Regions from separate parts of the Homo sapiens genome. Here all the other regions are linked to region 2. The links are contacts of gene promoters, found by promoter capture Hi-C in blood cells and fetal thymus (Javierre and others, 2016). All regions are on one chromosome and are shown on one strand. Each heading gives the region's core, a stretch centred on a gene start or on the middle of the fragment in contact. The rest is flanking DNA. Distances are from core to core; before and after follow the strand shown. Region 1 overlaps TUFT1 (tuftelin 1). Region 2 holds the start of RORC (RAR related orphan receptor C). Region 3 has its middle 8.6 kb from the start of CGN.

What was found. Contacts are between HindIII fragments. The CHiCAGO score rates a contact against its expected background, and 5 or more counts as called.
Region 1: a contact is called between a fragment that was not itself captured here and the fragment with the promoter of RORC in region 2, in 8 of 17 cell types (M1 macrophages, M0 macrophages, endothelial precursors and 5 more). The highest score is 9.7, in M1 macrophages.
Region 3: a contact is called between a fragment that was not itself captured here and the fragment with the promoter of RORC in region 2, in 2 of 17 cell types (M0 macrophages and M1 macrophages). The highest score is 7.5, in M0 macrophages.

The regions. Positions count from the first base shown.
Region 1 is chr1:151,561,352-151,565,100 of GRCh38, forward strand. It overlaps TUFT1 (tuftelin 1), which reads left to right. Exons shown (of 13, transcript NM_020127.3): 2 at 740-814; 3 at 1,234-1,335; 4 at 2,553-2,639; 5 at 3,174-3,263. Among named protein-coding and RNA genes, the nearest start is that of MIR554, 17 kb to the left of the region's middle. The HindIII fragment of the contact is 1,878 bases long and covers 1,339-3,216 here.
Region 2 is chr1:151,829,973-151,833,510 of GRCh38, forward strand. RORC (RAR related orphan receptor C) reads right to left here and starts at 1,830. Exons shown (of 11, transcript NM_005060.4): 1 at 1,753-1,830. The coding sequence starts at 1,792. RefSeq lists an enhancer at 451-1,138. The HindIII fragment of the contact is 14,534 bases long and covers 1-3,538 here.
Region 3 is chr1:151,500,891-151,504,596 of GRCh38, forward strand. No RefSeq gene overlaps it. Among named protein-coding and RNA genes, the nearest start is that of CGN, 8.6 kb to the right of the region's middle. RefSeq lists an enhancer at 3,001-3,501. The HindIII fragment of the contact is 2,715 bases long and covers 1-2,671 here.

The DNA.
Region 1 (3,749 bases), core at 1,028-3,527, 270 kb before region 2:
CAAAAAATACAAAAATTAGATGGGCATATTGGTGCGCCTGTAGTCCCAGCTACTTGGGAGGCTGAGGTGGGTGGATCACTTAAGCCTGGGAGGTTGAGGCTGCAGTCATGCGCGCGCGCGCGCACACACACACACACACACACACACACACACACTTCTTTGACTTATGAAAGAAAACCTGCTTCATTCTTTGAAATTAGGTTGATCTCTAGATGAATACCTATTATCTTGCCTGTTTTCACTTGGATAATTTCCATGTGGCTCATAGAAATGGGAGTTTGAATTCAGGTACTTTCCTATAGTTTAGTTCAGGAAGAATATGCTAGTCTTGTAAAGTGCATCAATAACTTGCTGGCTGGTTGTCAGGAGCAGAAATTCTGGATTGAGGATGAGCAGTCCAGGAATGACCTCTCTACAACTAGAGAAAGAAGAATGCATGCAATGTGTTCCCTGTAGTCCAAGAACCAGGGTAGCCCTGCTGGAGCTCTACAGAGCCATGTGCCAGGTAATCTTTGTTGTGAAAGAAAAAACTGTTGGGTGGTCCCAGAGTCACCACCCCAAACACCTGATCTTGGGCAAGGTAATGCTGCCTCCCTGGACTTCAGTTTTCCTAGTCTGTGAAGTGGTGATGATAAGACCCGCTCCACAGAGCTGGCAGAAGCACCCCTGTACTGGTAGCAGTTTGTACCTGTAGACTGTAAAGTTGAGGGGTTATTGTTGCTGTCATTGTCATTATTAGGGCAGCGTGGACATTCTCAGGCTGACTCTCCAGGGTGAACTGACAGGAGATGAACTTGAACACATAGCCCAGAAGGTACTGCGGAATTCTGGTGGGCAAGGCCCCCTCCCCACACCAGTGCTTCCTTGCTGCTGGCCTCTTACCCAAGTACTGCCTGGAGCCGACTCTGGTGATGCGAGCGTGGGAGCCCCTCCTTTCAGCAACATCCAGCTTGCCTCAGCCTTCTGCACTGCTTTGGGGCAGGAGGAGTCCCCCACTAAAATTAAAACTAAACTGCTACTTCTGTCCATTCTCCCTGGCCGGTGTTCTTGCTGCTGTGTGGCTTCTGTTAGAAGTTCGGAAACGAATTTTTGGAGAGGAAAGTCAGACTAATCCTTCAAGTCTTTTGAGAAACAGGTCTTCTGCATTAGCTGAGGGGCAGGAGTTCTGGGCTTGCCATGTGGTGTCTGAGCCATCTCTCTCTCTCTCTCTCTCTCTCATCTCTCTTTGGCCAGGCGGGCAGGAAGACCTATGCCATGGTGTCCAGCCACTCAGCTGGTCATTCTCTGGCTTCAGAACTGGTGGAGTCCCATGATGGACATGAGGAGATCATTAAGGTAAGCTTAGTTCACCTCCAACTTTTCTCCCTGTCCTCTTCCTCCCTGCACGTATATGAGAAGGAGCAGTTGATGTTGTTGCCAAAGGGAGCTTGTGGTTTGATGGAAGGAACCAGACCTGAGCTGCTAGTTCCTGGCAATCTCCTAGAAATATCTTAATTAATACCAGGAGACTACAGTCTGCCTGTTAGCAACTTTGGTGCAGCCTGGCCCCAGGCAAGGGGATGGACTGGATGACCTTACTAGGGGCCTATCCACTGACCATGTTTTGCTGCTAGAGGTTGTGGAGACAGGTAGGAGGTGTGTTTATGGAACTTATGTTTTCCTATAATGGGTTCATCCTGATGGAACTTATTTATTTATTTATATATTTTTAGTTTTGTAGAGACAGTCTCGCCTTGTTCCCTGGGCTGGTCTCCAAATCCTGGGCTCGAGCAATCGTCCTGTCTCAGCCTCCCAAAATGCTGGTATTATAGGCGTGCACCAGCCCACCTGGCTGATGGAACTTATTTTTTAAAAAATAAAATGATTTTTGTTATTTCTCTCTCTCTTTTTTTTTATAAAACAGCTTTTTTAGATATAAATCCCATACCACATGATTGACTCAGTTACAGTTTTGGTCAGTGCATAACAAAACTGCATAACAACGTTTTGGTCAGTGATGGACTGCGTAGACAACAGTGGTCCCATAAGATTATTATACTCCATTTTTACTGTATTTTTTCTGGGTTTAGATACATTACCATTGTGTGACGATCACCTACAGTATTCAGTACAGTAACATGCTGTGCAGGTTTGTTTGTAGCCTAGGAGCAATAGGGTACACCATACAGCCTAGGGGTGTAGGAGGCCATGCCATCTAGGTTTGTGTGTGTACACTCTGTGATGTTTGTACAAGGATGAAATTGCCTAATGATGCATCCCTCAGAATGTATTCCTATGATTAAGTGATGCATGACTGTATATATGTGAGTGTTTATGCCAATACAGCTATATAGCATTGAGCTAAATTTATTGCATTAGGGTAAATTTCCAGAAGTAGAACTGATAGACCAAAAAGTAAATATATTTTTAGGTCTTCTGATCCGAATCACCAAATTCCACCCAGTAAATTGGTGGTAACAATTTACCCTCCCACCAGCACTATATGAAGCTGCCTATTTTTGTATAGTTAATTTAATTTGAGGTTTCTTAACTAAATGGTGTTCTTATTTCAGGTGTACTTGAAGGGGAGGTCTGGAGACAAGATGATTCACGAGAAGAATATTAACCAGCTGAAGAGTGAGGTCCAGTACATCCAGGAGGTGGGCACCCCTTACCTCTCACGCAGTGCCTAGGTCATTTCTCTAAATCTCACATTTTTTGTGACTGTCTTCTTTTGTGGATTCTGGTTTTTCCCCTTCTTTTTCCTTTATGTCTCTGAAATGCCACCATGCCCTCCCGTGTGTCAAATATATAACTTTTGACCATACCTGATCCATTAATCCACAAATACTTAAGTACTATGGGCCCAGCACTGTCCCAGCCACCTATCGAAAATTACCAGCCACTTTTCACAGCATTTCTTAACTCCCTTCCTGGCTCGTGTTTCTCGTTGGCACTTATGCCCATATAACATATTACACATTTTACTTATTTGTCTTTTGTGTCTTGTGTCTCCCCAACAAGAATGTCAGCTGTAGCTCCACTTGACCAAGGTCCCTCCCTCCATCCTGCAGCCAGTCGTTAGGACAGTGCCTGACTCGCAGTACAGGCCAGGGATGGGGCACAGAGTTGGGTGAGTTGGCATGCTCTCTTTCTCTACCCTAAAGCTCAAGTTTCTTCCCCTCCCCTCCCAGGCCAGGAACTGCCTACAGAAGCTCCGGGAGGATATAAGTAGCAAGCTTGACAGGAACCTAGGAGATTCTCTCCATCGACAGGAGATACAGGTAATAGGAAATGGTCCATGGTTGGGTCCCCACCGAGGAGGTGGGGTTGTGCCAGGCAGTCTCATTTACCAATTACCCAGTGTGTGCTAAATCTAGCATCCCTGCCAGGAATGGAGAAAATAGAGGTGATGCTGGCTTCTCTGGAGCACTCACAATCTGGTTAGGACTCTCCAGCCGATGAGCACTTACATTTACACATGTCAGCTTAAACATAAGTACACCTGCTCCTGAAACACTGTACAGAAATTGAACTTATATAAATTAAATATCATCAGTTGTTAGCAAACCTCTTATCTATAAGGATTCTGTGATCAAGCTTCTTATAATAATAGAATTTTGTAAAGCAGACAATCACCTGTAAATCCACACTTCTCATAAGCTGATCTTGCTTAGTTTGGGTGATACCTGTAGCGTAAATTGAAGTCCGTGCCCTAGCCTGTTATTAATCTTGTATATAGTTATGTCTAACCTGGGATGGGAAGTTCC
Region 2 (3,538 bases), core at 580-3,079:
TTATTTACTTTGTAATTTCATTGGAGGTGCACAAGAAATATCCTACAGCCAGAGTTAAATCTCTGTGGGACTGAAATCTCTTGGTTGCTTATCTATGCCTGAAAACACCAGGGCTTCAGAGATGTGGGGGTTGGGAGTAGGGGGAGAGGATGTTTGGAGGAAGAGGAGGGGAGAGTTGCAAATACAGACCCCTCTCTGGCTTCCACGGGCCAGGCTTCCCTGGCCTACCAGCCTGAAGAGGAAGGCCTCCCTTCTCTGCTGCTGCTGCGTGGCCGGGTCTGGGTGGAGATTGGGCAGTAGGGAGCATGAGTGGGTCGATGGGGGTCACATGGATACTCGGACCTCCAGGGGGAGCAGCCGTTGAGGGGAGGGCCTTAGCTGGAGCATGGTTGGTGGGTGGGGGGGTGTCACCCATTCATGCAGTTAACATCTATGAAACACCTAGCCAGGGAGCCCCTGGAAAGAGGATTCCCCTGCCAGACCTTGGCCCATTTCCTACATCCACATAGCAGCTCATCACAGAACACATGGCCAGTCTTTTGTCTCAGAAAGCCCTTCAACCATGCCCTATACCCCCTATAGCTTCCCTAACCTCTGACTCTATTCTGTTATTTTTTTCCTTCTGCTGTTCAGTCTTGACACCTGACATACACACACACACACACACACACACACACACACACACACACAGTGCCCTTCTGCCCGGGAGATGCTCCCCACTGGCAGGCCGTGGTCACTAGGCTGTGTGGAGGCGAGTGGCCTGATGGCCTGGGCTCTGCTGGGGTGAGGGAGGAGAAAAGACTGCCCCGAGGTGGCAAGGCCCCACCCAGCCCCGCCCACCTCCCCTTGCTCCTGCCTGGCCCCACCCAGCTTCCTCCCTGACGTGGCACCGGCTCCTGGCCTCTAGCCTTGCACCTCAGAGCAGTCCTGTGGTGGGGGTGCTCCCCTTGCTCACCCAGGCAGCCAGTTCTTCCTCCACCAGGTGGCCCTGGAGCTTGGTGGCTCTGGCCCTCAAACTTTCCTCCTCCATGCTCACAGCTGACCAAGCCTGTGGCCCTGCGATCCTGCTCTGAGGGGGTTCCTGACTTGGACCATGGGTGGGGCCAAGGACGGCCTGACATTCTGTCCTTCCCTGCTGATGGCCCAGTGCCCCACATTCTCTGCAGAGATGAAATCCCACATCCCTGGGTGAGTGGCGAGGAAAGGACCAGGCTACGTGGTCATGGGCAGCTGACAGGGTGTGGTTCCCCCTGCCACACTCCCCAAGTCTGTCACTCCTTAAAGGACAGGTTTCTCCACTGGTGAATGAACAGAAGGTGGAGCAGCCAGCCTCCCGGCCACTGCTGTCTGGGGTCCTGGCCAGATCAAGGAAGCAGTGTCCCTGTGCCTCCTGGGGGGTAAGCCCACACCTGGGAGGGCCTGTCCACATTCTGACCCCTCGCTGGGTCTAGATCTGGCTCCCCTGACTTGGCTCTTCCCTCCCCATCTACCCTCCAACCTGTTTCTTCCTTCTCCCGCTTCTCCCTTTCTTTCCTGTTTCTCTCCTTTTGCGATTTCTTCTCCTCTGTCATCTCCCCAGCCCCTCCTCCTGTTTCTCCTCCAGTTTCACTCCCTGCCAACCCAGGGCTTTCTCCTCTGCACTCTTGTCCCTCCCTCCCCTCCTCACTTCTTGCCCAGTCTCTTGCCATTTCTGCCCTCCTCTGAACCTCCAGCAGTCTCTTCCACCTGCAGGCAGGGCCATGGGCCTCTTACCCCGTGAGGCTCGGTGCTGTCTCTGTGGGGCCCTGTCCATGGGGCAGCTCCCTTGGTGCCGTCCTGGCTGCCCTGGCTGCCCAGGAGGGCAGGGAGCAGGGCCCAGGGGAGGGAGGAGGGCGGAGGGTGGAAGGCGGGAGCACCTGGCCCTCCAGCAGGCAGGGAAAAGGAGTGGCTGGCAGAGTGTCCTGGCACCAGGAGGGGACATGAGGAGAGACCAGTGGACCAGTGCATGGAGCCTTGAGGAGAAACAGGACAGGAGAAAGGAAGGGAACTAGCATTTATTAATCACTTACTGTGTGCTGGGCCCTTTGCAGGACACTTTATGTAAATCCATGCTTTTACTTTGTGTAAATATTCACAGCACCCACCACAGGGAAACATTATTATTCCAGATTGATCAGTGAGTGGAGGGATTCTCAGAGATATTAATGATTTTGCCCAAGGACTCACACAAGAACAATAAATGGGTGAGCTATGATTTGGACCCAAGTCTTTGTGACTTTAGAATCCTGTGATTTCTACCTAAGACAGGTGACAGGCATAGGGGAGATGGAGAGGGCAGGTTTGGGGGACTGTGTCTCTTCTCTAGGATGCAGTCAGACTCCTCCCAGTGACTGTTCAGTTCCCTGAGGCCTCTGCCTGCTCGGCCCCTGCCCCTAACCCTTGCTGCTCTTGCCAGGACTCCCTGACCCCCTGATGCTTCTACGTGCTCCTCATCTGTTGGGGCAAGGGGCAGGCCTGGAGGAGTGCCTGGAGGCAGAGAAGCCATGGTGGGGAAGAGGAGAGGAGAGATGCTGCACTGGACTCATTGGGAGAAGGAGAGGCTCCCAGACCTAGTGGCCCACACTGAGGCCTGCAGTGAAGGCTCTGAAGGGGGCCAAGAGGACGAGGCTTCTGGGGATCCTGGTGCTGCTTTTCTCCTGCATGGCCTGGGCCCAGAGTTTGATTAGCTGGGCCTGACTCTCCTGGTTACCCAACAAGCAACTGGCCAGGGGCCAGGCTGCAGCAAGAGGCTCCCTGGCACCTCCTCCTGCTCTCGTTCCCAGCTGGTAAACAGCAGAGCAGGAGTCAGCCATGCCACAGCCTCGTGACTCGCCCACTCCCCCCCACCTGGTGCACGTGGCACCTGGCATGGAGAGGGCAAGCAGCTGTCCCTTCCCTCTTCTGCCGTCTCGTCTCGCCATCCTCCACTCCTGCCCAACCCTGGAGCTTCACACTCTGCTACCATCAGCACCTCTGTTCTTAGGTAGCTCCCAGAGTCTCCCCATGGCTGCAGATTGAGAGATAAAGGTAGAAGTGGAGAAGGACTTTTCAACTCCTAGGGTCATTGACAGTGGATGAGTAGTGAGAAAGAGGAGGGGAAGTTTTGGGGACCTTCTGCACTGAGTCTAAGGGTATGTGCCTATGCCTCTGAGGCTCTGATTATCCCCCGTGTTCTTTTGGTAAATGTGGGCCCACGCATCCATGTATGCATCTCTGCACAGAACAGGATGTTGGTCTGTTTGGGGGCTCTGCACCTTGGGCAGGTTTGGAGTGAGAGGTAAAGTGCTTTGCAGCTCCCTTCCCCCCCGCCCCCCCAGCACCCTCCAGCTGACAGGAGGAGCCAGCAACATGCCGGGCGTGGGAGTGCAGGGGAGATGCCGTTCTGCTCCCCTCCTCCCCAGAACTCCTCAGTTATCCCCCATCTCTCTGTCTCTCTTTGCTGGCTCCTGCCTGTCTGTGGCTCTTCTCCAGCTGTCCCCTCTCTATCTTTTCTCCTTTTTAGGCCTCTCTTCCTCTTGAC
Region 3 (3,706 bases), core at 64-2,563, 330 kb before region 2:
GCCTTGGTAAATGGGATTCCTGGCTGGTGCAGTGGCTCACACCTGTAATCCCAGCACTTTGAAGGCCAAGGCAGGCAGATCACCTGAGGTCAGGAGTTTGAGTCCAGCCTGGCAAACATGGTGAAACCCTGTCTCTACTAAAAATACAAAATTAGGCCGGGCGCGGTGGCTCATGCCTGTAATCCCAGCACTTTGGGAGGCTGAGACAGGTGGATCATGAGGTCAGGAGATCGAGACCATCCTGGCTAACACAGTGAAACCCTGTCTCTACTAAAAATACAAAAAAAAAAAAATTAGCCGGGCGTGGTGGCATGCGCCTGTAGTCCTAGCTACTCGGGAGGCTGAGACAGGAGAATTGCTTGAACCTGGGAGGCGGAGGTTGCAGTGAGCCAAGATGGCGCCACTACACTCCAGCCTGGGTGACAGAGCGAGACTCCATCTCAAAAATAATAATAATAATAATACAAAAATTAGCCGGGCGTGGTGGCGTATGTAATCCCAGCTACTGGGGAGGGTGAAGCAGGAGAATCACTTGAACGCGGGAGGCAGAGGTTACAGTGAGCTGAGATTGCACCACTGCACTCCAACCTGGGTGACAGAGCGAGACTCCATCTCAAAAAAAAAGGGATTCCTCCGGGCCTTCTATGGAGCATTCTTAGAATTCACTCTATCATGCCCGTTTTGCTGAGCCATTTAATCTTTTCTTCCCCCAGTTGCTCTGGCAATACAGACATTTGACCTTCACTCAGCAACCATTATCATTTCCTCCATGCTCCTAGGAGCCACTAGGGGCAGGTCCTTACCAGGAAGTTAAATTCCTTTTTATTTTTATTTTTTTTGAGACGGAGTTTCATTCTCGTTGCTCAGGTTGGACTGCAATGGCACGATCTTGGCTCACCGCAACCTCCGCCTCCCGGGTTCAAGCAATTCTCCTGCCTCAGCCTCCTGAGTAGCTGGGATTACAGGCATGCGCCACCACACCTGGCTAATTTTGTACTTTTAGTAGAGACGGGGTTTCTCCATGTGAGTCAGGCTGGTCTCGAACTCCCGACCTCAGGTGGTCCGCCCACCTCGGCCTCCCAAAGTGCTAGGATTACAGGTGTGAGCCACGGTGCCCGGCCAGGAAGTTATATTCTATCCCAAGAAAGTGGTCCCCAAGTTAAAAAACTTGCCCTTAATCCACTTTTATATTTCATCCCCTTGATTAAGCACTGTCAAAATCCAATCCCATGGGTACTTCCCTACTCTTACCACTAAACGTTGGCCAGTTCTTGCAGGATACTTTGGGTTATAGTCCCTTTCTTTCCTTATTAGGCCTAGTATGTCCTTAGCTACCAGACTATGCTGTAATTTAACCCATGAGAGTTTAAGATTAAGATCTTCACAGTCAGGAGATCATGGGAGGGGAGAGGCCTCTGCAGTGTCTTAAGGCTCTGAGGGTTCAGAGGAGTGCAGAAAGCCAGAATCTTTGGGGGGACCTGCCCAGATATTTCTATTCCACGTATTAGGGTCCCAGGTTTTCCCAAGCAGAGTCCTGACCTTGATTGCAGATCTGCCTCTGGGAGCTCTATTGAAGTCCTCGAGTTTGGTCTTCAGATTTTTTTGCTCTCTCACTGCTATAGATAAGGGCCTCTTTGTAAGCCATCAGAAAGGCCCTCTGACCTTCACAGTTAATTTCCAACGTTTGTTAACTACTCTCAGCTTTTCATTTTCTCCTGGCAGGGCCCAGTGCAACTTAATAACAGCCAGCCAATTCCATTGTCCCTATACTCACTGCTGTCCCTCCGCCTACCCCCTATGCCTGAACTGTTCCACCACAGGAGCATTCTCTCATTTCACATCAGTGAAAATTTAGCAACTTGGCTACCATCTTGTTCCAGAGACTACCTGTACCCCACAACATCCAGGAGGGGTTCTTGTTGCCAGCCAGGCAGTGAGTACTGCAGTTCCCTAAACCTATCTTACTGCTCGCTTTTTCAGACCACTTCTGGAGTGGTCACCTGAGTCAGTTCAGGTGGTCTGGGGAGCAGATACTGAGACAAAGTTAGGAGTGCAAGAGGCTTACTGGCTGGCAACACCTGTGAAAGATAAAGAAGGAGGCAGGAATGGGCAGAGAAAGACTTTGGATAGGCTTCCCTATCCTGATAAAGTAAAGGAAGGCAGAAGCAAAATCGGGCAAGAAAAACCTCAAGCTGTGGTGCAGATCCTTCCAAGTGGCAGTCTACCCAGTGGAAAGCACCAGGGCAAAGGTTATCACATAGAGAAATCAACAGTGGGCAGAAACGGCCAGGTCCCAGTAACCACACTGTCAGTCATTGGCTTGGGGCTGTTCAGGAAGAGTGTGGCCTTAGCTCTGACATGGTAGTGGATCCCAAAGGTGATGCAGCTGTGGGCTGACAGTGAATTGCTTTCTGGCAGTTGAATGGCAGATTCTTTCTAAGGGATGTCATGGCTGCCACATCAGGTATTTTTGTCTTGGAGTTCAGTGCTATTTCCATATGTCATTTTGCCTCTGTATTATGAGACTTATACTTTGAAAAAGATTCAGATAAAAAACCTGAGCAAATCAGCAATTAATGGGATTCTGCTAAAACTCTTTGCCACAGTGGACTGTGAGAGAACTGGAGGAGTCTCAGGGCTTGCGGGATGTGTGTATAGGTTTGAGCTGCCAAGCTTCTGTCCCCTTCATTGATGAGAGGAGGAAAGCGAGATGGGAAGTAGAATCAGCTGTTGTTTGGGTGTGTGGAGGAAAACTGGCTCTCTCCTCAGAATGGCGTTTTAACAACCCAGAAAAAGAATTACACGAAGGAATCTGTTCCTTTTAATTTCTTTTTTTGTTGTTGTTTTTTGAGATGGTGTCTTGCTCTGTTGACCAGGCTGGAGTGCAGTGGTGCGATCTCGGCTCACAGCAACCTCTGCCTCCCGGATTCAAGCGATTCTCGTGCCTCAGCCTCCCAAGTAGCTGGGATTACAGGCACATGCCACCATGCCCAGCTAATTTTTTTTCTTTATTTTTAGTAGAGACGAGATTTCACCATGTTGGCCAGGCTGGTCTCGAACTCCTGACTTCAGGTGATCCACCTGCCTCAGCCTCCCAAAGTGCTAGGATTACAGGCTTGAGCCACCATGCCTGGCCTGGGAATTGGAAATATATGGCCTGTCTTGCTCTTTTTTTTTTTTTCCTTTTAAATGATATTCTTATTTTGAATGTAGACTGAAGGCCAGGTGCTATGGCTCACGCCTGTAATTCCAGCATCTTGGGAGGCCAAGGTGGGTGGATTGCTTGATCCCAGGAGTTCAGGAGCAGCCTGGCCAACATAGGGAAACCCCATTTCTACTATTTAAAAAACAAACAAAAAAATGAATATATACTAGAGACTTTGAACTTACTGGAATTTAGCTGCTCAGAGAGTTAGAGATGCGCAGCTAGGACAATAGGGGCTACAGGGTGTGGTGAGATACAAGGAACTTGGAAATGAGTCTTTCCCTTGTCGGGGAGTGACTCTGATTAAACTGAAAAAAGTTGCTTGGAATGCTTTGTCCCAAACAATTATCCTTTATGTACTAGATTTGGCTACACTTACTCACGTTCCTAGCTGATAACAAAAGGAAGAGGTGGGAGGCAGAACATGACTTTTTCCTCTTCAAGAAACCCAAAGGAAACAATACAGTTATGAAATCTGGGATCATCTTCATAATTCTCAGA